Linked DNA regions of Homo sapiens: all the other regions are linked to region 4. The links are contacts of gene promoters, found by promoter capture Hi-C in blood cells and fetal thymus (Javierre and others, 2016). All regions are on one chromosome and are shown on one strand. Each heading gives the region's core, a stretch centred on a gene start or on the middle of the fragment in contact. The rest is flanking DNA. Distances are from core to core; before and after follow the strand shown.

Region 1 (3,753 bases), core at 600-3,099, 470 kb after region 4:
AAGCATAGCTGGGTGTGGTAGCTCATGTCGGTAATACAAACTACTTGGGAGGCTGAGAAGAGGATTGCTTCAATCCAGGAGTTGGAGACCAGCTTGTGCAAGATAGGGAGACTCTATTAAAAAAATGAAAAAAAATGAAACATGGAATGTACCGTATGCTCTGGGTATACATACAAAAGAACCGAAAGCAGGGACCTGAATAGTTACTTGTGCAACAATGCTTATTATTCACAATAGCCAAAAGGTGGTAATTACTCAGTGTCTGTCAACAGATGAACGGCTAAACAAACTGTATATCTATGTAAGGAAGTATTATTCAGCAAGAAAAAGGAATAAAGTTTTTTTTTTTTTTTTCTGAGACAGGGTCTTGCTCTGTCGCCCAGGCTGGAGCTCACTGCAACCTCTGCCTCCCAGGTTCAGCGATTCTCCTGTTTCAGCCTCCCAAGTACCTGGGATTACAGGTGTGGCCCACCACACCTGACTGATTTTTGTATTTTTGGTAGAGACGGGGTTTCACCATGCTGGCCAGGCTGGTCTTGAACTCCTGACCTCAGGTGATTCGCCCGCCTCGGCCTCCCAAAGTGCTAGGATTACAGGCGTGAACCACTGCACCCCATGTAATAAAGTTTTGATGCATGCTACTGAGAGGTGGCAACTGCTAGCAGCCCTCGCTCGCTCTTGGCGCCTCCTCGGCCTTGGCCTCCGCTCTGTCCCTGCTCCAAGAGCCCTTCACCCCGCTGCTTCGCTGTGGGGGCCCCTCTCTGGGGCTGGCCGAGGCCAGAGCCGGCTCCCTCTGCTGGCGGGGAGGTGTGGAGGAAGAGGCGCGGGCGGGAGCCGGGGCTGCGCACGGCGCTCGCAGGCCGGCACGGTTCCAGGTGGGCGCGGGCTCGGCGGGCTCTGCGCTTGGCGCGGCCGGCAGGTGTCCGCTGGGCTTGATCCGGAACGAGCTCCGTCCGGGCTGCGGGAGTGCCCAGGCTAGGTGCCGCAAAGACCCATGGGAGTGCCAGAGAGAGGTGAAGCCGGCTGGGCTTGTAGGCGGGGTGGGGACTTGGAGAACTTTTCCGTCTAGCTGAAGGATTGTAAATGCACCAATCAGCACTTGTGTCTAGCTAAAGGTTTGTAAACGCACCAATCATTGCTCTGTGTCTGGCTAATCGGGTGGGGACTTGGGGAACTTTTGTGTCTAGCTAAAGGATTGTAAACGCACCAATCAGCACTCTGTGTCTAGTTAAAGATTTGTAAGCGCACCAATCAGCACTCGGTCAAAACAGACCGAACAGCTCTCTGTAGAACGGACCAATCAGCTCTCTGTAAAATGGGCCAATCAGCAGGATGTGGGTGGGACCAAATGAGGGAATAAAAGCAGGCCACCCGAACCGCTGAGGTTCCTTTCCATGCTGTGGAGGATTTGTTCTTTTGCTGTTTGTAATAAATCTTGCTGCAGCTAACTTTTTGGGTCTGCGCCGCTTTTATGAGCTGTAATACTCACCGCGAAGGTCTGCAGCTTCACTCCTGAGGCCAGCAAGACCATGAACCCACCGGAAGGAACGAAACTCCAGACGTGCAGCCTTTAAGAGCTGTAACACTCACCGTGAAGGTCTGCAGCTTCGCTCCTGAAGTCAGCGAGACCACGAAACCACCAGAAGGAACAAACTCCAGACACACCATCTTTAAGAACTGTAACACTCACCGCGGGGGTCTGCTGCTTCATTCTTGAAGTCAGTGAGACGAAGAAGCCACCAATTCCGGACGCACTACAACATGAATGAATCTCAAAAATATTATGGTAAGTGATATAAACCAGACACAAAAGGACAAATATTGCATAATCCTAGTTACATGAAATATATAAAACAGGCAAATTCATAGAGATAGAAAGTAGATTAGAAGTTACCAGCAATGAGAGGAGGAGGAGGGGAGGAGGAATTATTTCTTAACGGATACAAAGTTTCTATTTGGAGTGATGAAAAAGTTTTGGAAATGGATAGTGGTGATGGTTGGACGATATTGTGAATATAATTGATGCCACTGAAATGTACACTTACAAATGGTTAGAATGGCAAATTATATCTTACCAAATATCACGTTTTACCGCAATAAAAGTTATAAAGACGATCTTTGCTTTTATAAATGAGTAAAACAAAAAAAAATACACAAACATTAGACATACAATTCAGTGAGCTACGAGCTATATTGGACTCAGTGGTAGCAACAGGAAGGGGCCCTGACGTTGTCAAAATTTTTCCTACATGCTTAGTGCTTTGTGTGTGCTTTCACTGCATCTGCAGAGAAGCCCTGAGAGGTGCTATGGGGCCTATTTTACAGATGGAAAAACAGGGCAAGTCCTGGTCCAAAGTTATGCAGCTCTATGAATCCAGCATTCAAATCTAGGTCTATCTGGCTCCGAATGGAGTACAAGCAGACCAGTAGTGACCATTTTGGGAAAATTGTTTCACCCTGGAGGATAATTTTCAACTTTTACTTAATTTAACTAGGGAAGATCACTGTGAGGGAGAATAGATTAAATGTGAGCAAGATCCTATCCAACTCTAATTTCTCATAGGATTTTTGCTGGAACTCATCACCCTCAGAACACTGATTTTGGGTTGAGTTTTCTAGTTTATACGGTTTTAGTGCACAACGGCAGATTTGGTAAATGTTGAATACAGTTCTTTTCCAATGTAATAATCCATCCATTTTCATAGTTTAAAATTGACTTTGGTAAGAAACAGAAGTTCTTGAATTTCCTGCCTGTGACCAGAGGAGGCCGCTGTTTCACTATGAATGTTTTTAGAGTCAAACGCAAACTCAAGCATATTGCTGGGTCCCAAAATTATCGTTCTTATTTTCATTCTCTCTCTCTCTCTCTCTCTCTCTCTCTCTCTCTCTCTCTCTCTCTCTCTCTCTTCCTCCCTCCTCTCTGGCCTTTCCTCCTTTCCTTTCCCTTTTTTTTATTTCCTTCTCCTGTTATTATTTCAATAAGTCAGCTCAGATGTGATAACAGGAAGGGGATGTTTCTCTTCTTCACATTCTTTGAACATTTATCCACCTCTTCCCAGACAAATAACTGTTTCCTTTATTTTATTTATTTATCTTTTTGAGACGGAGTCTTGCTCTGCCGCCCAGGCTGGAGTGCAATGGCGCGATCTTGGCTCACTGCAACCTCCACCTCCTGGATTCAAGCCATTCTTCTGCCTCAGTCTCCCGAGTAGTTGGGAGCACAGGCACCCACCACCACGGCTGGTTAATTTTTGTATTTTTAGTAGAGACTGGGGTTTGCCACATTGGTCAGGGTGGTCCCGAACTCCTGACCTCAGGTGATCCGCCTGTTTCGGCCTCCCAAAGTGCTGGGATTACAGGCGTGAGCCACCGCGCCTGGCCACCGTTTCCTTTAATAACAAACTTTCCAAGAAAATGGACCAAATGGAAAAGATACTTTTCCTTCCCCTTTACTATTTTTAAGGATGGAAATGGACTTTCATTTTTGGGTGTAGATTAACAGTTGAACAGTCACATGGCAGAGTTCAGTATTCTTTTCCTCAACCATTCATTTTCACAGTTTAGCCTGTCCTGGCCCCAGAGAGGGCAATGTGGGAGTTTAGAAAAATCCATTGTCAAATCTGGAGAGCATTTAGAAAAATATTTGATAGCTAAAATCATTTTCTGCATGGAGACTATAGCTTTCCAGAAGTTCTTTTGTTAAGCAACTGAAAAGAAATTTAGGTTTTCTTTCTTTCCTTCTTTCTTTTTTCT
Region 2 (3,681 bases), core at 850-3,349, 300 kb after region 4:
GAGGCTTTCATGAGCTAGATCACACCACTGCACTCCAGCCTGGGTGACAGAATGAGAACCCTATCTCTAAAGTAATACAATATTTTATTCTCTAAAATAAAAGATGTGGGACAGAGGCATTGTTTTCCATTTTTGCAGATCTCTATGATTTCTAGCTTAACAGAAGACACTAGCGTCTCATACCTACTTTTGCATTCACTCTCTTGCAATATACTGTTTGGTTGGACCCTATGAGCAGAACCTGGACTTGCACAGGGTAGTTGGAAAAGGAGGAGCCTCACTGACTCCCTGGAAGTATTTTAGGGAACCCTAGTCCATACTTTGAGAGCTGGTCATTTATGCTAATACAGGTTGGGAACATTCAGGATTATTATTATTATTATTATTATTATTTTATTTTTTTAGACAGGTCTTGCTGTGTTTCCCAGGCTGGAGTGCAGTGGCTATTTACAGATATTATCATAGTGCACTGCGGCCTTGAACTCCTGGGCTCAAGTGATCCTCCTGCCTCAGCCTCTTGGGTAGCTGGGACTACAGGCATGGACCACTATGCCCACCAGTTCAGCTTTTGAGGATCACATTCTTAGGTCGGGTGCATTGGCTCATGCCTATAATCCCAGCATTTTGGGAGGCCGAGGTGGGAGGATCGCTTGAGCTCAGGAGTTCAAGACCAGCCCGGCCAACATAGTGAGACCTTGTCTCTACCAAATTTCAAAAAAATTAGCCAGGTGTGGTGGTGTGTGCCTGTAGTCTCAGTTTCGTAGTGGGCTGAGGTGAGAGGATGCTTCAGCCTGGGAGGTTGAGGCTGCAGCAAGCTATGATCATGTCACTGTATTCCACCAGCCTGCATGACAGAATGAGACCCTGTCTCAAAAAAGAAAAAGGAAAAAAAAAAAGAAGATCACATTCCTAGTATAAGAATAGAGGAAAGTTGAGCCCCTTGACTCAAATTGTGTCATAACAATGTGTAATCATTGTTTTTTTACAGCATAACTGTAAATGTGTGACTGTTGGATGTGGCCATAAAGCCAGCCTGCCCTAAAGGCCTGACAGGGTCTCCATGGATCCCAATGGAGAACTTAGGAAACACCTGACCAGCCTGTCACATTGTCATTTGGGCCCAGTTGGCTTTGGACCACCAGTTGACCGAGTATCTAGCTTGGGCCATAAGATAGTTCAATATATCTTTCTGGTTTTTTTTTTTTTTTTGAGACGGAGTCTCACTCTGTCGCCAGGCTGGAGTGCAGTGGTGCAATCTCAGCTCACTGCAACCTCCGCCTCCCGGGTTCAAGTGATTCTCCTGCCTCAGCCTCCGGAGTAGCTGGGACTACAGGTGCATTAATATTTGTATTTTTAGTAGAGACGGGGTTTCACTGTGTTGGCCAGGATGGTCTAGATCTCTTGACTTCGTGATCCACCCGCCTTGGCCTCCCAAAGTGCTGGGATTACAGGCATGAGCCACTGCGTCCAGCCTAATATATCTTTCTTACTTCCTCAATTTTTTAAAAGAGTTAAAGAACAAAAATTTAAGTGAACTCCGATTGCATCCACACAAGACATAATCCAACTAGGCTGCTTAAAGCCTATAAATGTAAGCTTTATAGCTAGGACTCATTTGTCACCTCAACTTTAGTTGAGCATGAGCTGAGTTTAGAAATGACAAAACCTTTAACTCCAGCTGCAGTGCATTCCATGAGAAACTGTTTTCCTTGTTTTGAGATTGTGGTGGAAAATGAGCAGCAGTGAGTTCATTCAGCAATTATTTTTGAAGTGCCTTCCCCATGCCAGGCTTTATTCTTGGCACTTGGGATGCGTCAACAAGGAAAGATCCACAAGCTCGTGGAGCTCGTTGGGGTGAAGTGGGTGTGTGTGTGGCAGAAAACAGTTAGCATAATAAGGAAGCGATGTGCTGTGGAAGAAAGACAGGGCATGTTGAGGAAGATGGGGTGTGGGGGATGTGGGGGGCAATTTCTGACAGGGTGGTCAGGGTGAGGGCAGACCTGGATAGGGACTTGGAAGGAGAGGAGGGGAGGAGGGAGCTGGCTCCTGAGTTGCAATGTGGGAGGGTGCCCAGCACATTCGAGCAAGGAGGAGGAGCTCAGGGTGGCTGGGGTGGGGTGGAGGTGGGAGAGGAGATGCTGTGGAGAGGTTGGCATGGTAGTTGGAGGAAGCACAGAGAAGCCTTCTGGTTGTAGTAAAAGGGGGGACGTGAGTATTCTTGGGAGTGAGAAAGGTTGGGAGTATGCCCTGGAATGAGTTCTTCAATTTCACTAGTGGGTGGGGACATCGAAGCTCAAGTTTTAACGCGGGACACCGGGGGAGGGTCTTGAACAGCAGTCTGAGGAGTCCTCCACATTGCTCCTGGAACATTTACCTGGCAGTGGTGTGCCGGATGGATTGATGGAAGGAAGATGGGTTAGAAGAGAGAGCTTATTGCTCAACCAGTGATGTGGCACTCGGAGGGGAAGAGAAAAAACTGAGTCTCTGATATATTATGGATAGTGAGGAGGGAGGGGAGGGATGACTGTAAGGTATAAGCACATACATAGAAAAGCAGATGAAAGGAGAGGCAATGATTCATTTAACTTAGACATAAAGCTTCTCCAATCAGGAGTTACCTGAAGGAACATTTCAAGCTTTTGCCAACTTACTTTGGAATCCCTTTTTAGTAACAGTAGGAATTTTGGTTCCAATGCTTGTAGCTGAAATTGTGAGTCACTCCCATTGGAAATCGTTAGAAGAAAAGGAATGGGTTGTTGGAAACATAAAAAGAAAGGCATAGAGATTTTGCCCTAAGAAAGGAAGGGGAGGGAAAATAGAGTTGATTTCCTATTCTGGCAAATCAGGGATGGCAATTATTAGTATTTCATAATAGTGACCAGTAGTTACTAATTTATAATGTAGAGAACGTCACCATTTTCCTAGTTTAGTGTGCTGTTTTGTGAACGTGAGAACAATTAACAAGCCTAATTAGTATTAGGCTGGCACCAGCCTTGGTATGCCTGTGTTTTTCCCAGGTTTCTCAGAGACCTTTCTTCCATGTTGGTGCAGGAAGTTAGCAACTGAGTTCAGGCAATGCCTTCTCTCCTTGGGCCAAGATGTAAGTAGGGCTGAAGGTAGAGATGACCGTAATTATAGTTAACATTTTTGAGCAGGTACTATGTGCTGGGCTCAGTTTAAGACACTTTTCCTGGGTTAACTCAATCTCACAGTGTCTTATACAGTGTCTTACAAAGTAGATGTGTTGCTCTCCCCATTATACATATCAAGAAATTGAGGCATGGATTGGTTCAGAGTCATTTACCTAGAATTGATACTTGCTGTACTGAGATTATCAAAGGAGAGTATACTGAGAATACCAAGGAGATAATACTGAGAGCCAAAGATAATATACGTGTGTGTGTGTGTGTGTGTGTGTGTGTGTGTGTGTGTGTAGTGAGGGGTACTTAATATTTTGGGGTTAGGAAGAAGATGATAAATCAGAGGAAGGACATGTTAGAATTTAACAAGCCAGAAACAGTTCTAATTCAGGGTTTCTGTAGGTCCACATTTCTTTACCCCCTGGAATTCAGTGAATTCTGCATTGTAGTTAGCATCTTAACACAGGTGTATTCAAGCTGGATCTATCAGGGAAATTCAAGTGACAAAGGAAACAGTATCTAATTGCATTCGACTTATAAC
Region 3 (4,013 bases), core at 877-3,376, 490 kb after region 4:
GAAACAAATTTTTTTTCTATGCACTTTCAATATAAACATCAAAGCTTCCAAACAATTTTTGTCAAGACTTAAACATAGGGGCACTTGTAAACAGGGTAAGAAAAACTAAAGAAGAGGGAACAATTGGTAGAGGCTGCAGATGAATCTGAAGTCCCGTTTAGAGATTCATGACTTTATTTTCATTCTGAAATATTAAAGGTAAGTGATATACAACGATCTCAGAATTTCTAAGAGGAATTTATGTAAGATTGTACATAAAGTCAATAGAATATGGTACAGAAAATCTGGACTTTAGGAGGGGTTTATAAACTCAGATTTTTTTGTTTTTGCAATTCTTTCCTTCATAATATGGAAATAACCAAATCTCTTAGGGTTGTTTAAGATACCTGAAGCTCTTGGTATATATTAAGACTTAATAAATGCTAGCTTGCTTCTCTCCCACTGTGTGTTTATGTATATGTTCCTCTTTATGTATGAATCATATATACTAACGTAGTTTTCCTTTCCCTGTAATGAGCTGAAAACAAATGATCTTCTCCTCAATTCTATTTTTCTTCTTTGTAGCTGATGTTGGTAACAGGAGTATATAGCCAACAAGCTCGTCCCTATCCTGAGGTTCATATTACAAGATACAATCATTTTTCCCTTGGCGGTAGATGAGGCAATTTATATCTCTGGTTGTCTTAAGCATCTCCTACAGCAAATCAGCTATAGTTTAAAGTCAAAATGAAATCCTCCGTGGATTTGAATCATAGCTAGAAGCAAGACCATCAAGTTAGGAGTGCTTGATTGAGCAAAGTGGAAAAAACAAAAAAAGCTTACAACACCTAAATTACAACGAATGGTAGTAATATGTCATCCATGGCAACTTCAGTATTCTCAAATTTTTTTTATTTGCTCAACCAATTCCACATATTGAAATGGCTTGATGGGGTGAGTCTTCCTAATTTTTATTTTAAATGGGGCTGAAAGTAGAAACTGTTATAGAAATAAACAAGAAGCTGTTTAAGGAGACAACCAGAGGGAGAAGGCAGCAAATAATCTTGGAAGATATAGGAGAAAGAGCAAGTCATCTTGCAAAATATGGTAAGAAAAATCTACCATCCCCGCCCCAGCCCAAGGGAGAGAGTAAGCCAGGGTACCCAGAACATGGAAAAGGAGCTTCAAAGTCAACCAGAACAAAATTGGAATTCCAGCCTTGCCACTTTCTAGTTGCTGATCAACTTTAGAAACATGTCTTAGCCTCTTTGATTTTCATTGTTCTTATCTGTAGGATAAGGCTAAAAAATATCTCCATTTGCAGGACTCCTGTGAGGATGAATTGAGAATGTAAAGCACTTTGGAGTGGTTGGAACATACAAAACATTTGACAAATGATGTAGTGTTATTGTCTTAATATATTTAATACAATATATATTCTAAGATATATTGAAATATGCATGCATTAAGATTTGACCTGAAAAATGGGGAATTATGCTTTATTATGTGAAAGTTAATAATCTTACAATAATTATGAATAGTAATCATATTCTTTTTTTTTTTTTTTTGAGACAGAGTTTCACTCTTGTTGCCCAGGCTGGAGAGCAATGGCACGATCTCGGCTCACCGCAACCTCCGCCTCCCGAGTAGCTGGGATTACAGGGATGCGCCACCATGCTTGGCTAATTTTGTATTTTTAATAGAGATGGGGTTTCTCCGTGTTGGTCAGGCTGGTCTTGAACTCCTGACCTCAGGTGATCCACCTGACTGGGACTTCCAAAGTGCTGGGATTACAGGCGTGAGCCACTGTGCCCGACCCATACTAATTCTTACATAAAAATGCTGAAACTTGAGGGTGATACAGCATAAGAAAAAACATAGGTTTGGGGTCAGAAAGTTTTCAGTTTCTTCTGATTGGTGGCTGAGATGTTTGGATAAGTCACTATAACTTGCTGAATTTCAGTGTCTTTATCCATAGAGAGGGGATAATAACACTTACTTTTTAGAGTTTTGGGAGGATTATAAAACAACTAATGAATATTGCCTGGCATATGGTAAACAAAAGACACCTGTTCTCTTCCCTTTTTGGTATTATTCTGAGACTACTATATAATCCTACTATATCTCATAGTCACCTTAGAATACAGACAGAATATAGAGTCTCAAAATCTCACAGATAGCATATAATATATTGGAATCATCAAATATAAATATAAAATTGAACCTGGTGAATATTCAAACTCTGCTAACTGATGCATCAGGGCTTCTGATGTGTCAGAAGTAAGTAAGTAAGTTGCTAGGTAATTTCTGTAGTACTAGGCCTTTACTACCTTAGAACAGAGAGGCCATTCCTTTGAGGCAGTTTTAATTGTCAGAAAGTTCTTAATATTGAACTGAAATCTCCTCCTGGCAATTTCCCTTCAGTGGTTATAGTTCTAGATGCTGATCATATTCACATCACAGCCCTTTGTGTATTTTAAGTCTGCTGTCTTAGAACAGCACCTGGCCGATGGTAGGTATTCAGCAAATGTTTCCTCAGTGAATGAATGAGCGGATGAATGGGACAAGAAATGAGAACCATTTTACAGTGTGAGTGCTTTACTGCCTATGCTGAGAATGTTAGCACAATTTCTTTTGCACAAAATGGTAATATATTGTATCAGTCATGGTACAATAAAGACAGCAGAACCATTACGAGTTTTATAGAATAAGGGATTTATCATAGTAATAAAGCCTTATACCATTATGGAAGGGGCCGGAGAAGTATAGTTTACAAGGAGGGGTTGGAGGATCAGAGAAATGTCTATAACCGTGCCTTTTGAAATGCTAGTGCAAGTGGACAAGGGCAGAGTTCACAAAGGAATGTGGGAAGGCAGGGGCAGCAGCTGAGGAATGAAACTGGGAAGGAGCCTGGGAACCCTGTTGTTGCCTTTGCATCTGGTTATGGGCCTGGAAAGATTGTTGGCCCGTGTGTTCAGGCTCTCCAGAGAGAAAGAACCAGTAGGATCTATCTGCCTGCCTGCCTATCTATCTACCCATCTATCCGTATATCATCTATCTGTATATCATCTATCTATCTGTCTATCTCCATCTGTCTATCATCTGTTTATCATCTATCTATCCATCCATCCACCCATCTTTCTATCTATAGAATTGGCTCACGTGATTACGACGGCTGGGAAGTCTAAAATCTGCAGGGGGACTGGCAAGTCTGAGATCCTGGAGAGCTGATGGTGCAGATAAAGGCTGAAGGCAGTCTGTTGGAGAAGTTCCTCTTGCTCAGGGAGGCTGATCTTTTTGTTCAGTTCAGGCCTTTAACGTATTGGATGAGGCCCACCCACATTGTGGAAGGCAATCTACTTTACCTAATAGTTCACTGATTTAAATGTTAATTTCATCTCAAAATGCCCTCTGAGTTGACACATAAAATTACCTATCACAGTCAGCAAAGCTTGCAGTCAGGAAGAAGAGCTAGATACAGAGGAGGGAAAACATGAATGAGGGCTGGAATCTGCCAGCACTTCTGCTTCTATCCCTTGTTGCACTAACAATGATGGTCTTTGAAGAGTCAATGGCTGCCGTTCACTTCTGCCTTCCAAATCTTGCTCAGGTTTCCCAGAAGATAATTCTGGGAATCATAGTGCTAGTAGACCAGTTGGCATGCATAAAACTACGTAGTCAACCCATTGTTAACTTGGCACCATATATACCTTTTTAACATATATTTAACTTTCTAACTTGATGCAACCACCCCCCAAACAACCTAACACCTGCTAACCTTCTTGCCCCAAAAGGATACAAAGTCTCATGTGTCATCTAATCCATCTCTGGGTGATGTTATTACCCTTTTTTTTTTTAATTATACTTTAAGTTCTAGGGTACATGTGCACAACGTGCAGGTTTGTTACATATGTATACATGTGCCACGCTGGTGTGCTGCACCCATTAACTCGTCATTTACATTAGGTATATCTCCTAATGCTATCCCTCCCCCCTCCCCCTACCCCATGACAGTCCCCGGTGTGTGATGTTCT
Region 4 (3,804 bases), core at 1,112-3,611:
GCCTCCTGAGTAGCTGGGACCACAGGAGTACACCGCCATGCCCGGCTAATTTTTTGTATTTTTAGTAGAGACGGGGTTTCACCGTGTTGCCCAGGCTGGTCTCAAACTCCTGAGCTCAGGCAATCTGCCCATCTTGGCCTCCCAAAGTGCTAGGATTACAGGAGTGAGCCACCGCGCCTGGCCAGCACATTGTTAATATTAACTCATTCATCCTCGTACCAACTGTATGTGGTATGAAGCACTATTGTTATCTCATTTATATAAATGGGGAAACCGAGGCACGGAGGCCTGAAGTAACTTGCCCTAGGTAACAGCTAGAAAGGAACCGGGCCTGAAATTAGGCAGCCTCACTCCAGGGTCTGTTCTTTTAAGGATGGCCAGATGTACTTCTAAACTTCCTTAGGGAAAAACCCTCTACTCATTTTCAAATATATGTATTTCCCCTAGATGGTGGCTTGTAACAGGTAAAGAAATGGCTCTTTGTCCTGGGATGAAAAGCTTCTCAAGGGAATTATTCTCCATTCCAAGCTGTTGGCTGAAACGAGGCTGGTTTTGGAAGGGGTGTCTTTGGAAAATCTCTCAAACTTGACTCAAAAACCTCCCTGTAATACTGATCATGGAACCTGGTGGACGCATCCGTTCAAGAGCTACCATGCTACCCATTCTTCTCAAACTGATGTTTTAGAAGCACTTCAAATCCTTAAAGCTCTTGCCTATAATTATAGCTCCTCTATAATTCATGGATTCCATGTTTTTTCAGTGCCCCAAATGTGCCAAACACTGTGCTAGGACTGGGATCCAGCAGGGAAGATAGATAAGATTCCGGCTTCCATGGAAGGCTGCAGTGCAACAGGCAACTTCAGCCCCGTGTCATACAGGCCTGTGAGGGGAGCACAGGGGGTGGAAGCACTGGAAGTGGAAATGTGGCATCTAACCTTGACAGGGTACAGGAGGCTTCCCGGGGTCTGTAAGAGCAGTAGTTCAGCAATGCCTACTGCATGGATGCCTTGGCGGCCAAGCTGGGATCTGAAGAAGGGTAGGAATTAGTGAAGTGAAGGGAGGGGCTGGGGGTTGACGTGTTCTGGGGAAAGAAAAGAGACCCAGAGTTGGGAGCGCAAAATGAGATTTTTCTGCTTAGAAGGATCATTCTGCAAAGTGGAGAACAGATTTCAGGGGGCAAGGCCTGGGACAGAAGGACGATGGGAGCCCTTTACTGAGGTCCAGGTGAGACAGGATGGGAGGAATGGGTTTGGGAGGTTAACAAAAATGGATGGGAGAGGGTTAAGAAGAAGGAGGAATCAGGGATGACTTTCAATTTTCCGGTTTAGGTTTATCTTCCACAGCGTGGGCAATTCTTTTTGTTTTCAACAAGATCACCCCGGGAGCGCAGACCTTCCCAGCTCCCGGGGCGAACACGTGTGTATGGAATCAAGGTGTAAGGAACATACATCCCAGCCTTTGTTGTAAATGGGGAAGTCTAGAGCTCTTCAGGAGAGGAGGAAGCTCCGGCCTCGTGTAGGGAAAGGTTTCGCTCGAGGCTGTACCGCCAGCGTCTCCGTTTCCGCGTTCTCCACAACCTTGCGAGAGGTAAACTGCAACTGTAGTTTCCGGATTTTACAGAGGAGCCCAGGAGGTCTGCGTGAACCCTGCCCGAGTCACTTACTCTGCCCAGCAGGTAAGCGTAAGGCCCAAACCCCACGCTGTTATTCCAAGTTCGCTTGCTGGGCACGGTAAGTGAACCCTGGGAGTCCTGGACTCTGGTGAAGGCCACCATGCCCTACCTGGAGGCTGCTCAGGGTCTAACATCCTCTAGCATCCACGGGAAGGGATTGCGTTAGGATTTTTTTCTCTCGTAAAAAAGTTCCTGTCTCCCCCTAGAGCCAGGCACACGCCTCCCGCGCCAGACCACTTGTCCCAGGCACAACATTTTTTGACTCTTCGCCTCCCCCGTTTCGATCCCCCTTCCTCTCCGCCTTAGGTGGCAGGAAAATCCTTTACCTCCGACCAATCCCACCGATGCCGAGCCGCGCGCGCGCGCCAACTAGAGCTCCGTCTGTGCACGCCATTGGCCACCTCCACCTATGCGAGATGACAGGCAGCTTCGCGGACCTATCGCCGAGGGAGGCAGAGGCCTCCGGCCCTCCCAAAGCTGCTTTGTTAGGGGCTCCCTGGTCGTCCCCCGGCCCGCCGCGCCTCCGCTGCCTGCGGGCGATCTCCCCGGGCCGCGCTGACGGAGCCTCGCAGGAAGGCATCTCTGGAGCGCGCGCCGCCCGCGCCCCTCCAGCCGCGCGCTCCGAGCCTGGCTGCGGCGCGGATACCCGGCGTGCGCCCATAGTCGCTCTACAGCCCAACTCCGAACGCCCCGCTCCTGCATCCACCGCCTCGGATTGGCTGGCCGGAGGCGGAGCGATTGTCAGGCGGCCCAATCGGAGCTCGGTTTCCCACGGGCTCCCGCGGCCCGGCCCCCGAGGCCGCAGGCGGAGGGGCCCTGACAGCTCCGATTGGCAGACCACGAGCGGGTTCGAGCGCGGCCGGCAGAGCAGCGCCGCCGCCGTCGGGCGCGCAGCTCTGCAGCTCCGCGGACGCCTTGGCGCCCGCAGCCCCAGGGGCACGGCTGCCCCGCATCGTGCCCGGCCCCGTCGCGGAGATCCCGGACGACCGTCGCGGGTGAGTACCGCGGGCCTGGGGTGCGCGGGCGTCCGGCCGGAGCCGCCCCGGGAGACGGCGGCGAGGATGCCCGGAGCCTCGGTGCCCGTGCCGGGCACGTTCTGACCCCCGTCTCCCGCACACTGGGGCTCCCGGCGGGTCCTAGCTCCCCCCGATCGGGCTTTCCACGTATTGTTTTCGTGTTCACACACTTGGGAGGTGGGGAGATGCGGGGAGGAGAGGCAGGAGGAGGCATCCCTCGCGCGAAGGAGGGAGACGAGACCGTGCAGCCCAGGTGCCTTCGCTGGATGGAAATGACAGCGTCCGGACGTCGGCATTCGGTCCTCTCGGCAGCAGGAGGTCAGCGCTGACCTGCGGCGGCCGCGGCACTTTGTATTTTATCGGCTGATTTTTGTCAACTTCGGGGAGGGCGTGCTTGTGCATCCTTGTGTCTATGTTTGCGTCTCGGTCCCTGACTTAGGCACCTCCGGGCCTGGCTTTTCGGCGACGCGTCCTGGGCGCTCACCTTGGCGATCCGTGCCGCCCTCGGGGCCGGGCTCACCGGGCGGAAAGCCCGGGGGCCGGCGCACGGAGCTGGGGACCCGCGACGAACCCCCGGAGGGGGGCATTAAAAGCGGAATCCTGCGGGTGCGCAGACAATGCCTCATCCGGGCGGTCGGGTCCCGGGGACTGTGCCCTGGGTCCCCGCGCCCTATCCCGTCCCCGCCTCGCCCTCTCACCAGCTCTGCCGCTGCGATGCTGCTGCGCCGCGCCCCTCGCCACCCGGCTGGGGACCCGCGTGGGGCCCGCTTTTGTTTACAGACCTCGCCATTGGGCGAGAGCAGCGCGCCGTGCGCCCCCCAGCCCCGGCGGCTGCCGCTTGCCCCCTCGAAACCTGGAGAAGTTGTTGCGCGCTGTCAGGTGACGCCCCCTCCCCCCGGCCGCGGGGCGGGATGCTGCAGGGGAAAGATGCCGTCTCGGCGCCTTCGCGCCCAGCCCCCGCCGCGCACGGCGCCTCTAGGTCCCCTGCACCCGGGGGCGCCCGTGTCCCAGCCTGGGGTCCAGGCTGGCGGCCCTCGGGGCGCCGACTCGGCCACACTCACCCGGTTCCAGTCGTCGCGTCTCCTGGTCTTGCCCCCGGGTCAGCCCTGGTTGACT
Region 5 (4,093 bases), core at 99-2,598, 330 kb after region 4:
TCCGCCTCCCGGGTTCAAGCGATTTTGTGCCTCAGCCTCCCGAGTAGCTAGGACTACAGGCATGTGCCACCATGCCCAGCTAATTTTTGTATTGTTAGTAGAGACGGGGTTTCACCATGCTCAGGCTGGTCTCGAACTCCTGGCCTGAAGTGATTCGCCCACCTTGGCCTCCCAAAGTGCTGGGACTACAGGCATGAACCATTCCGCCTGGCCCATAACTCTTTTTCATCATGCAAAGCTTAAATGCGGTCCCCATTACATAACAACATTCCATATCCCCTTCACTCCGGCCCCTAGCAACCACTGTCTTTCTTTATAAGTTCCAGGATAGCTGCTTTGCCGAAATTAAATATATACCATTCAAAGGGTGTTTAACTTTGGTCAGCTTCCTTCGTTTTTCCTTCTTACGTGGAAGACAAACGTGAACTCTCTGACATCAGAATGGATTGTGTTGCTATTGGCTGAATTGGGCTGGGGTCCTCACAGGGGAAAGAAGACCCACTTTCATTAAATAAGGAGAGCAAAAGGCTGCAGTTCCACAGAACATATCAGATTATGGTCTTTCTTGGGGTTCCAAGTGCACTACACAGACTCCGTTATGTTTGAGGCATCCCCTGTTTTGCAGTGGAATTCTTACTTTGCTGGTAGATCAGTCAGGATGGATAGAATTAGGCTGAAGAAAGGAGCACTTAAATCTCAGCGGCTTAACATGCTTTCTCCTTCCTGGCATGATCGAGGCTGGCTCCAGAGCCGTACTCATCCTAGACTCTTATGGATCCAGGCAGACAGAAGCTCTATCTTGACACAGTGCTTCTGTGACCGTGGCAACGGGGCAAGAATGGGGCGAATCAGGCTTTTGTTGAGCAGTGATGTCACTTCTACTCACATTTTACTGGCCAAAGCCAAGTGCCATGGCCATGCCTGGCTTCAGAGGGGGCCAGAAAGTTCTATTCTCCCATATTCCTAGAATGAGAAGAGCTCAAAATATTGAATGGTCATGCCTGTAATCCCAGCACTTTGGGAGGCCGAGGCAGGGTGATCATCTGAGGTCGGGAGTTTAGGACCACCCTGGCCAACACGGTGAAACCCCTCTCTACTAAAAATACAAAAATTACCTGGGCTTGGTGGTGTACGCCTGTAATCCCAGCACTTTGGGAGGCTGAGGCTGGCGGATCACTTGAGGTCAGGAGTTCAAGACCAGACTGGCCAACATGGTGAAACCCTGTCTCTACTAAAAATACAAAAAACTAGCTGGGTGTGTGGCTCCCTAGTAGCCTGTAGTCCCAGCTAGGGACTAGGGAGGCTGAGGCAGGAGAACCACTTGAACCCAGGAGGCGGAGGTGGCAGTGAGCTGAGATCATGCCCAGGCACTCCAGCCTGGGCAACAGAGTGAGATTCTGTCTAAAAAATAATAATTATCGAATGGGTAATGCTTGTGACTCTGCAGCCTGGCTTTCAGAGCAATTAACAAGAGCTGGGGGTCAGGATCAGTATGTCATATTAAACAAGGAAAAAACAGAACCAAAACTTTTTTTTTTTTTAAGAACAGGGTTGGTGGAGATTGGGATTTATAATAAATGACTGTGTTCTTCCTAATTTTTCTGGGCTTTTTTCCTCCATCTGTGAAAAATGGTCATCTGAGTCCCTTCTGGATAAATATTTTTATTTAAATTCTTAAGTTCATAACATATATTCAGCCGAGCTTGCTGTCAGAAATTTCAGATCTTTCTATCCATTACTCAGGTATTATGTCAGGGTTGTAGGTATTTCCTTTTCTTACTCTGTGAGTTAGGGGGTGAGGGTAGGGGCTGGGAGGTTCTAACTGAGGCAGAGATGAGAGAGGTTTGCCTTGAAGATATGGATGTGGACCGCCCCTGAGCTTCCACCTGCCAGGTGTTTGTGCAGGAACCATAGCCTCTCCTTAGTGCTGCGTGCGCCTCTGCAGGGATTGCATCTGGATGCCCACACATTATCCTTTAAAAATGGGTGAAGATGGCCGGGCGCGGTAGCTCACGCTTGTAATCCCAGCAGTTTGGGAGGCCGAGGCGGGTGGATCACCTGAGGTCAGGAGTTCGAGACCAGCCTGGCCAACATGGAGAAACCTCATCTCTACTAAAAGTACAAAAATTAGCTGGGCATGGTGGCAGGTGCCTGTAATTCCAACTGCTCGGGAGGCTGAGGCAGGAGAATCTCTTGAACTTGGGAGGCGGAGGTTGCAGTGAGCCGAGATTGCACTGCTACTGCACTCCAGCCTGGGCAACAGAGAAAGATTCCATCTCAAAAAAAAAAGGGGGGGTGAAGACACGAACTCCCCTAAAATCTAAAAGCTCCTCATTTCCACTGAGCGATACAAACAAAATGGAAAGCATGTTTCGGGTCAAGGAACCAGCTTTTTATCAGGTACTACCAGGCACTTGGGAGGACAAAGAAATAAATGGTGGAGAAGGGTGAAGCTTTTTGGAACTTCCTTTGTAGTTTTGTAAGGACAGTTTTTAATGAAAACCGGAATATGAGGTATCATATTTTTAGCATAGTTATAGAAAAATTATACTCAAATATTAGGATAATATACCTTGGAAGGATGTTCTTTGAAACTTTCTATGATAGTTTAACGTATACACAGAAAAGGCACATTTTGATGGTGTTTAACAAACTGAACACACCCCTGTCATACACCAGCACCCAGCACCATGTAACTAGCACCCAGATGAAGAAACAGAAGGTGGCCAGCACTCCAGAAACCTTACTGTGCTTCTTACCAGATTCTACCCATTGCATCTCATCCCACCAAAAAAACCTGCCCTCTCAACTTCTAATACTGTATATTAGTTTATCTGTGTTGATACTTGATATGGTTTGGCTGTGCCCCCACCCAAATCTCATCTTGAATTGTAGTTCCCATAATCCCCACTTGTCGTGGGAGGGACCCATTGGAAGGTAATTGAATCATGGGGGCGGTTACCTCCATACTGTTCTTGTGAAAGTGAGTGAGTTCTCACTAGATCTGATGGTTTTATAAGGGGCTTTCCCCCCTGCTTTGTTCTGCACTTCTCCTCGCTGCCACCGTGAGAAGAAGGACGTGTTTGCTTCCCTTTCTGCCATGATTGTACGTTTCCTGAGGCCTCCTCAGCCATGCTGAACTGTGAGTCAATTAAACTTCTTTCCTTTATAAATTACCCAGTCTTGGATATGTCTTTGTTAGCAGCATGAGAATGGACTAATACAATACTTTATATAAATAGAATCCTACAGTATATACTGCAGTGCATCTGATTCCTTCCCCAACAAGATGTGTGCCCAGTTTATATGTGTTAATCTATAGTTATAGGTCCTTCATTCTTGCTGTATAGTATTTCATTGTGTGATTATCCCACATATTCATCCATTCCCCTATTGGTGGCACCTGGATGGTGTCCAGTTTCACCCATGATTTGCTGCTGGGCATGTTCTTGTGTGTATATTTTCGTGTGCATATGAGTGCATTTCTCTTGAGTGTGTACCCAGAGTGCATTTTCTGGGTCACAGGGTATGCATATATTCAACTTTAGTAGGTAATATCCAACAGCTTTCTAAAGCAGTTGTACAAGTTTACTTTCCAGCCAGTGGCCAGCAGTGCATAGGAGTTCTGGTTACTCCATATCTTTGCCAACACTGGGTATTTTCATCTTGGATTCTTTTTTTCCTTCCTTTTTTTTTTTTTTTTTTTTTTTTTTTTTTTTTTTTTTTAAAAAAAGGAGGCCGGGCATGGTGGCTCACACCTGTAATCCCAGCACTTTGGGAGGCTGAGGCAGGCGGATCATGAGGTCAAGAGATTGAGACCATCCTGGCCAACGTGGTGAAACCCCATCTCTACTAAAAAAAAAAAAAAATACAAAAATTAGCTGGGCGTGGTGGCACATGCCTGTAGTCCCAGCTACTCGGGAGGCTGAGGCAGGAGAATCACTTGAACTCGGGAGGCGGAGGTTGCAGTGAACTGAGATCGCGCCACTGCACTCCAGCCTGGTGACAGACAGACTCCGTCTCAAAAAAAAGGGCTGGGAGTATAACCCCACCTAACGAGATACCCATTTATTGTGAGGCACTGGGAGATCCA
Region 6 (4,081 bases), core at 1,352-3,851, 450 kb after region 4:
GTCGGCCGGGCACAGTGGCTCACGCCTGTAATCTCAGCATTTTGGGAAGCCAAGGCGAGCAGATCACTTGAGGTCAGGAGTTCGTGACCAGCCTGACCAACATGGGAAAACCCCGTCTCTACTAAAAATACAAAAATTAGCCAGACGTGATGGTGCATGCCTGTAATCCCAGCTACTTAGGAGGCTAAGGCAGGAGAATCGCTTGAACCTGGGAGGCGGAGGTTGCAGTGAGGCGAGATTGTGCCACTGCACTCCAGCCTGGGCAACAGAGCAAGATTTGGTCTCAAAAAAAAATAAAATAAAATAAAAAAGAAAAGAAAGGTTCCTTATGCCAAAGTGTCAAATTTTGAGGTGTTATATTTGCTACCCTTCAGTTGTTATTTTCTTTTGCTCATTTTTCTGTAATAGCCCAGAAAAGTTGGTCTGATTTTTATTTATTAAGAGCTCTCTTATGAAGACAGCTTGTCCAGGATAATTCTTATGTTTCAGATCTACAGACTCCAGCAATATCACTAATCCCGGGAGTGGGATCCCAGGCTGCCACTGCCATGTGGTGGGGCCTCAGAGGGGATCCCTCTCTGCCATGGAGCTTGTTTTTATAAGTTAAGAAATGGTCATGCTTTCTACAAGGAAATGTTCCTATTGTACCTTGGTAGATACTATGTTTAAGAAATTTTGACATGGCAAAAATAAAATTGTCTTGGGGAGGCAAGAGGAAAGCTGGCATCTCAAGCTGGAAAAGTCCAAGTCATTGGTTAGATTCTGAAATGACTCTGAAATGTTTTATTAATTGTATTAGTCCATTCTCACATTGCTATAAAGAACTACGTGAGATTGGGTAATTTATAAAGAAAAGAGGCTTAATTGGCTCACAGTTTCACAGGCTGTACAGGAAGCATGGACAATCATGGTGGAAGGCAAAGGGGAAGCCAGCTGGAGCAGGAGGAAGAGAGCAAAAGGAGAAGTGATACACACTGTTTTTTTGTTTTGTTTTTTTGAGATGAAGTCTCAATACAGAGGGGAAGAGTAAGAAAGGAAATGGGTAACAAGCAGAGGTTGGAACAGTTTGGAGGGCTCAGAAAATAGAAAAATGTGGGAAAGTTTGGAACTTCCTAGGGATTTGGAGGGCTCAGAAGACAGAAAGATGTGGGAAAGTTTGGAACTTCCTAGAAACTTGTTGAATGGCCTTGACCAAAATGCTGACAGTGATATGGACCATAAAGTCTAGGCTGAGGTGGTTTCAGATGGAGATGTGGAACTTGTTGAGAACTGGAGCAAAGGTGACTCTTGTTATACTTTAGCAAAGAGACTGGCAGCATTTTGCTACAGCCCTAGAGATCTGTGGAACTTTGAACTAGAGAGAGATGATTTAGGATATCTGGCGGAAGAAATTACTAAGTGGCAAAGCATTCAAGAGGAAGCAGAGCATAAACATTTGGAAAATTTGCAGCCTAATGAGGCAACAGAAAAGAAAAATGCATTTTCTAGGGAGAAATTCAAGCCTGTTGCAGAAATTTGCATAAGTAACAAGGAGCCGAATGTTAATCACCAAAAAACAATGGGGAAAATATCTCCAGAGCATGTCAGAGACCTTCACAGCAGTACCACCCATCACAGGCCTGAGGCCTAGGAGGGAAAAATGGTTTTCTGGGCCAGGTCCAGGGCTCCCCTGCTGAGTGCAGCCTAGGGACTTGGTGCCCTGTTTTGTCCTAGCTGGTCTAGCCATAGCTAAAAGGGGCCAAGGAACAGCTCAGACTGTGGCTTCAGAGGGTGCAAACCCCAAGCCTTGGCAGCTTCCACGTGGTGTTGAGCCTACGGGTGCACAGAAGTCAAGAATTGAGGTTTGGGAACTTCTGCCTAGATTTCAGAGGATGTATGGAAATACCTGGATGTCCAGGCAGAAGTTTCCGGCAGGGGCAGGGCCCTCATGGAGAACCTCTGCTAGGGCAGTGTGGAAGAGAAATGTGGGGTGGGAGCCCCCACACAGAGTCCCCACTGGGGCACTGCCTAGTGAAACTGTGAAAAGGGGGCCACCATCCTCCAGACCCCAGAATGGTAGATCAACTGACAGCTTGCACCGTGTACCTGGAAAAGCTGCAGACACTTAATGCCAGGCCTTGAAAGCAGCTGGGAGGTGGGCTATACCCTGCAAAGCCACAGGGGTGGAGCTGTCCAAGGCCATGGGAGCCCACCTCTTGCATCAGCATGACCTGGATGTGAGAAATGGAGTCAAAAGGGATCATTTTGGAACTTTAAGGTTTAATGACTGACCTATTGGATTTTGGACTTCATGGGGCCTGTAACCCCTTTGTTTTGGGCAGTTTCTCCCATTTGGAGCAGGTATATTTACCCATTGCCTGTACCTTCATTGTATCTAGGAAGTAACTAACTTGCTTTTGATTTTACAGGCTCTTAAGTGAAGGGACTTGCCTTGTCTCAGATGAGACTTTGGAATGTGGACTTTTGAGTTAATGCTGTAATGAGTTAAGACTTTGGACGACTGCTGGGAAGGCACAATTGGTTTTGAAATGTGAGGACATGAGATTTGGGAAGGGCCAGGAGTGGAATGATATGGTTTGCCTGTGTTCCCACCCAAATCTCATCTTGAATTGTAGCTCCCATAATTCCTACATGTTTTGGGAGAGACCTGGTGGGAGGTAATTGTATCAGGAGGGTGGGTTTTTCCTGTGCTGTTCTGATAATAGTGAATAAATCTCATGAGATCTGATGGTTTTATATAGGGCAGTTCCCCTGCACATGCCTTCTTGCCTGTCACCGTGTAAGATGTGCCTCTATTCTTCCTTAGCCTTCCACCATGATTGTGAGGCCTCTCCAGCCATGTGGAACTGTGAGTCCATGAAACCTCTTTTTCTTTATAAATTACCCAGTCTCAGGTATTTCTTCATAGCAGTATGAAAATGGACTAATATAAGTTTCAACATGAATTTGAGAAGGGGGCACATTCAAACCACAGCAGATGGGTAAAGATGCTTCACGTGTGGCCGAACTCACCAACACACTAAGACAATCTTAGTGACTGCTATGACTTGAATGTGTTCCCCAAAAAGTATGTGTTGGAAAATTAATCCCCAATGCAACAGACTCTGGAGGTGGGGCTTAGTTGGAGTTTACAAGTTTGAACTTGTTGGGGCTCAGAAAGCAATACCTCACAATATGGCATTTCTGCCATGCTGAAATGAAGAAGCCTCAAGGTCTCTGACCACCTATCCCCAAGAGCTCTCCCAAACAAACTGAAGTTCCTTTATCTGCCTAAGATACAAACTGATATAGGTTGGCTGTGTCCCCACCCAAATCTCATCTTGAATTATAGCTCCCATAATCCCCATGTGTTGTGGGAGGTAATTGAATCATGGGTGCAGGTTTTCCCATGCTGTTCTTGCAATAGTGAATAAGTCTCATGAGATCTGATGGTTTATGAAGGGCAGTTCCCCTGCACATGCCCTCTTGCCTGCCACCATGTTAGACGTGACTCTGCTCTCTTCCTTCACTTCTGCCATGATTGGGAGGTCTCTCCAGCCATGTGGAACCGTGAATCCATTAAACCTCTTTCCTTTATAAATTACCCAGTCTTGGGTATGTCTTTTATTAGCAGCCTGAGAACAGACGAATCAGACTAATACACAGAGCTACCAAGGAGAATAATGACTCTTTCTTTCTCTTCCTGTTGTCTCATTATCTGTTGCAGAAAAGAAAACTAAGATGTGACCACACCAGAGCAGAACTTTTATAAGTATAATGGCTGTTTCCAAGTCCATTTAAATTCCAAAGAAAACTATTTACAATTTCATCTCTGTTCTCCACCCAATCATCCTCCCTAGCAATCACTTATTGCCGCTCAATAGAATTCCTCTTCTCCCCTCTCCCATAACCTGTTTTACAAGAATCCAAGCCCCCATTCTTTCTGTAACATAAAAATGGTACATAAATTTCTGTAACTCACTGGAAATTTGGGTCTTCATTCTGAAGGCTCCTATGTGTACATGTTACATAAATTTGTATGCTCTTTTTCCGTTCCTCAATCTGCCTCATGCCAGTGATTTCTCAGTGAATGTTTAGGCAG
Region 7 (3,957 bases), core at 380-2,879, 380 kb after region 4:
GGCCTCCCAAAGAGCTGGGATTACAGGAATGAGCCACTGTGTGCGGCCACATTGCTTTATTTCTTAAAATTTTGTAGTTTTACAATCATCAAAAATCCTTCAGGCTGGGTGTGGTGGCTCACGCCTGTAATCCCAGCACTTTGGGAGGCCAGGGTGGGCGGATCACCTGAGGTCGGGAGTTCGAGACCAGCCTGACCAACATGGAGAAACCCCGTCTCTACTAAAAATACAAAATTAGCCAGGCATGGTGGCACATGCCTGTAATCCCAGCTACTAGGGAGGCTGAGGCGGCAGAATCGCTTGAACCCAGGAGGCAGAGGTTGCGGTGAGCCAAGATTGTGCCATTGCACTCCAGTCTGGGCAACAAGAGCGAAACTCCATCAAAAAAGAAAAATCCTCCAGAACAGAGTCTGCTTTGTCAAGTTAGGTAATCAGACTGACTCAGGAATAAAGCATGGAAGTAAAGCCACTGTATTGTTTTGTTGTTTTTGTTTTTGGTAAAGTTTCTAAACTGGCTTCAAAATTAGTAAATTTCAGAAGAATTCCTGGCCGGGCTCAGTGGCTCGCGCCTGTAATCCCAGCACTTCGGGAGGCCGAGGCAGGCAGATCACGAGGTCAGGAGATCGAGACCATCCTGGCTAACACAGTGAAACCCCGTCTCTACTAAAAATACAAAAAATTAGCTGGGCAAGGTGGCGGGTGCCTGTAGTCCCAGCTACTCGGCAGACTGAGGCAGGAGAATGGCGTGAACCCCGGGGGCAGAGCCTGCAGTGAGCCGAGATCACACCACTGCACTCCAGCCTGGGCGATAGCGAGACTCCGTCTCAAAAAAAAAAAAAAAAAAAAAAAGAATTCCTGAATACTTGGTCAAGTAGCAGCCCAATTGGACCTGCTGGTGGAGAGAAGGCATTTCACTTCCCCACCTGGGTCTCTGCCTATCTGCCTTCTGATTGCTTCTGCTTCCTAGTCCCCACTTAACAGTGGAAGATAAAAGTGGAGGCAAATAAACAGGATAAAATAACTGAAAGATTGCTCTGTGATGGGGCAGAGATAAAGCAGTATCAGCAGACCACTGCAGTTAAAATAGAAAACAACCGAGAAAATTTTGTACAACGGGCAGGATGGACTACAGCCTTAGTCTAAATTTAGAAGTAACAAAAATAGGAAACATCCTGAGTGGCAGGTTTGAGGTTTGATGGGAGTAAGTTAAGGTGGATGATTGGTGTCCTCGACAGAGAGCCTTGCTGGGTCTCAGGGACCTTGGGGTCCACGTGAGTGCTGGCTGCTACCTGGCTGCTGGAGGCTTGTCCTGCAGAGCTCCACAGTCTCACAAACTCAAGTGGTCAGACTTGGCCAGGTCCTCCCTTAAGGACCCTGAGTGAGTATGGGATTAGCTTTCAAAGTTGGATTATTTCTGAACTGCTTTCTCATAGAGAGGTTTGTTTCTTCTATGTAGAAGCATCACAGCCTAGTGGCGAAGATTAGGGCCTGGAACCAAGTTATTTGGAACTTAGTCCATTTCTTTGGAACTCAGTCATTGGTGGGGGGGACAGAGTCTCACTCTGTCACCCAGCCTGGAGTGCAGTGGCAGGATCTTGGCTCACTGCAACCTCTGCCTCCCAGGTTCAAGTGATTCTCCTGCCTCAGCCTCCCAAATAGCCGGGATTACAGGCATCCGCCACCACGCCCGGCTAAATTTTGTATTTTTAGTAGAGACAGGGTTTCACCATGTTGGCCAGGCTGGTCTCGAACTCCTGGCCTCAGGTGATCCACCTGCCTCACCCTCCGAAAGTGCAGGGATTATAGGCATGAGCCACCATGCCTGGCCAGAAATCAGTCCATTTCTATGTTCATCAGCTTCATGACCTTGACCTGGTCATGCTTAATCCCTCTGTGCCTCAGTGTCCTCACCTGCAAAATGGGGATAATGCCACACTGTCATCTCATTGGGCTGTTGTGAGGACCAAATGAGGCATAAAAGTAAAGCATTTAGAATATTACCCAGTAAGCGCTCAATAAATGTTTTGTACCTGAAGCCATTCTCTTATGGGGGACATGAGGATTCCCTGGCCTATGACCAGAGATTGCTCTTTTTCAGTATTCTCCCTGCCTTCTACGCCACCTCAGTCTGCAACAGGTGAATTACCTGATAACTAAGTTTGTGAATTACAGCTTGTTCATATTTTCCTTTCTCGAGTAGAAAGAACTGAATGCTGTAGTCTAGAATGCTGAGGTTCCTGGGCCCTTTTTCAGAGCTCATGAGTCACCTAGTGTGGGATGGGGTCTGGGTCTGCATTTGTTCCGGTGGTTGCTTCTAATGTCCAGCCCTGGTTGGGAGCCACTGCCTTAGGTCACCAACTCTTCCTGGTTACTGCTCCCTGTCCTTTTTCTTGTCTTGGTGGAATCATAAGATAATTGGAATTTTACGGTGACATGCAAACCTTCTATAGTTTCTTGATCACATTTTGTGATCTGCTTCATTGAGATTTTTTTGTAATGAAAATTTGTTAGGTGGTCCTGTAGTACATTCTCCATTCTCCCGTTCCTTGGTTTACGAGGGAAGCCTGCTGAATGGGTTGCCACGTTGGCTTAGAAAGCCAGGATCTGCATAAGGAGAGTCTATGCTGAGTGTTCTCTGTAAGACTCAGTTTCCTATCCTTGGCTGTTTGCCATCCCTGAGTTCTGGTTGCAGTCTTACTGGAGCTACTTTCATCTGTTTTGGTTTTTTTTTTAAGCATTTGTTTTCATACATATTGGTAGGAAAAAAAGGGAAGGATGTCTAGGACAAAAAGATAGTTCCTTCAGTGGCTGTTTTTATAAAAAGATCTTAGCAGTGAAGGGGAAGCTAGAATAGGAAGTTGCAGAACTGTATTTGTATGAGGTTTCAAAAAAGTCTCTCTTGTGTTCTTGTGTGATTTATTTTGAATACTGATCTTATCTAGCAATATTAACAATCTGGGCTAGGTAATGCTTTGCTGTGGGGAGCTGTCCTGTGTGTTGATGTTTAGCAGTACCCCTGCAAGCCACTACGAGACAATAGTACGCCACCTCCCCAAGTTGTGCCCATCAAACATATCTTCAGACATTGCCAAAAGGCCACTGGGCAGCCAAATCTTACCCAGTTGAGAACTACTGGCCTAATTTATTAAAAGGTATAGCTCTATCACCCTTTTAGGGAAATGTTGCAGGGAACATCAATATAGGAAAGCAAAGCAAATCTAGATGTAAAACAGTTCTTAAAAAAAAGTTTTATAGGCCGGGCGCAGTGGCTCACACCTGTCATCCCAGCACTTTGGGAGGCCGAGGCAGGTGGATCACCTAAGGTCAGGAGTTCCAGACCAGCCTGACCGACATGGTGGAACCCCGTCTCTACTAAACATACAAAAATTAGCTGGGCGTGGTGGCGGGCGCCTGTAATCCCAGCTGCTTGGGAGGCTGAGGCAGGAGACTCTCTTGAACCTGGGAGGCAGAGGTTGCTGTGAGCCAAGATCGTACCATTGCATTCCAGCCTGGGCGACAGAGGGAGACTCCGTCTCAAAAAAAAAAGTTTTATAAAGCATTTATTGAGAGAATTCCAACACAAATCCCCATTTATGGCCTTGTTTTTCCTTTTTACATCAAGAAGAAAGCCAAGAAAAAATAAATGGAATTATGTAACAGTAATTATGCAAAACCTCAGCTTTTATGCAAATTATAAGAATCATAGTTGAAGTGACACCATTAGTGTCTTTCCGAAGTTTCAAACGCCTGTTTCTCTCTCTCTTTGGGTTCACGTTCACTTTATTTTTGTGGTTTATACAGCTGTGCTGTGATTGTCCCTAGAATTCCACTTGACCAGTTGGGGCGAAGCAGGTGCCTTGGTTTACCTCAGTGAGTAGCCCACAGGATTACAATAAAAGTGCCAGAGGCCAAGCGTTCGTTGTGGCTCACACGTGTAATCCCACCACTTTGGGAGGC

The links. The method cuts DNA at HindIII sites, captures the fragments that hold promoters and counts their contacts. A CHiCAGO score of 5 or more calls a contact.
Region 1: a fragment that was not itself captured here is called in contact with the fragment with the promoter of TIAM1-AS1 in region 4 in 9 of 17 cell types (non-activated CD4 T cells, naive CD4 T cells, activated CD4 T cells and 6 more); the score reaches 13.6 in non-activated CD4 T cells.
Region 2: a fragment that was not itself captured here is called in contact with the fragment with the promoter of TIAM1-AS1 in region 4 in 13 of 17 cell types (activated CD4 T cells, naive CD8 T cells, naive CD4 T cells and 10 more); the score reaches 26.8 in activated CD4 T cells.
Region 3: a contact is called between a fragment that was not itself captured here and the fragment with the promoter of TIAM1-AS1 in region 4, in 2 of 17 cell types (monocytes and non-activated CD4 T cells). The highest score is 7.4, in monocytes.
Region 5: a fragment that was not itself captured here is called in contact with the fragment with the promoter of TIAM1-AS1 in region 4 in 15 of 17 cell types (activated CD4 T cells, naive CD4 T cells, non-activated CD4 T cells and 12 more); the score reaches 28.1 in activated CD4 T cells.
Region 6: a fragment that was not itself captured here is called in contact with the fragment with the promoter of TIAM1-AS1 in region 4 in 11 of 17 cell types (non-activated CD4 T cells, activated CD4 T cells, naive CD4 T cells and 8 more); the score reaches 21.0 in non-activated CD4 T cells.
Region 7: a fragment that was not itself captured here is called in contact with the fragment with the promoter of TIAM1-AS1 in region 4 in 14 of 17 cell types (fetal thymus, activated CD4 T cells, naive CD4 T cells and 11 more); the score reaches 24.0 in fetal thymus.

The regions. Positions count from the first base shown.
Region 1 is chr21:31,085,648-31,089,400 of GRCh38, reverse strand. No RefSeq gene overlaps it. Among named protein-coding and RNA genes, the nearest start is that of KRTAP19-8, 49 kb to the right of the region's middle. The HindIII fragment of the contact is 6,028 bases long and covers 1-3,753 here.
Region 2 is chr21:31,256,342-31,260,022 of GRCh38, reverse strand. All of the region lies in intron 4 of TIAM1 (TIAM Rac1 associated GEF 1), which reads left to right. The region is part of intron 1 of LOC105372777 (a long non-coding RNA gene); the gene reads right to left. Among named protein-coding and RNA genes, the nearest start is that of TIAM1, 86 kb to the left of the region's middle. The HindIII fragment of the contact is 1,002 bases long and covers 1,599-2,600 here.
Region 3 is chr21:31,066,710-31,070,722 of GRCh38, reverse strand. No RefSeq gene overlaps it. Among named protein-coding and RNA genes, the nearest start is that of KRTAP19-8, 30 kb to the right of the region's middle. The HindIII fragment of the contact is 2,613 bases long and covers 820-3,432 here.
Region 4 is chr21:31,557,790-31,561,593 of GRCh38, reverse strand. TIAM1-AS1 (TIAM1 antisense RNA 1) reads right to left here and starts at 2,361. Exons shown (of 2, transcript NR_171013.1): 1 at 1,999-2,361; 2 at 1,107-1,577. It also overlaps a transcript of TIAM1 not described here. RefSeq lists a silencer at 2,013-2,642 and enhancers at 1,922-2,734, 3,548-3,804. The HindIII fragment of the contact is 6,855 bases long and covers 501-3,804 here.
Region 5 is chr21:31,227,854-31,231,946 of GRCh38, reverse strand. All of the region lies in intron 6 of TIAM1 (TIAM Rac1 associated GEF 1), which reads left to right. Among named protein-coding and RNA genes, the nearest start is that of TIAM1, 110 kb to the left of the region's middle. The HindIII fragment of the contact is 2,215 bases long and covers 241-2,455 here.
Region 6 is chr21:31,104,920-31,109,000 of GRCh38, reverse strand. No RefSeq gene overlaps it. Among named protein-coding and RNA genes, the nearest start is that of KRTAP19-8, 68 kb to the right of the region's middle. The HindIII fragment of the contact is 8,257 bases long and covers 1-4,081 here.
Region 7 is chr21:31,175,196-31,179,152 of GRCh38, reverse strand. All of the region lies in intron 15 of TIAM1 (TIAM Rac1 associated GEF 1), which reads left to right. Among named protein-coding and RNA genes, the nearest start is that of KRTAP19-8, 140 kb to the right of the region's middle. RefSeq lists a silencer at 2,827-3,121. The HindIII fragment of the contact is 6,195 bases long and covers 1-3,957 here.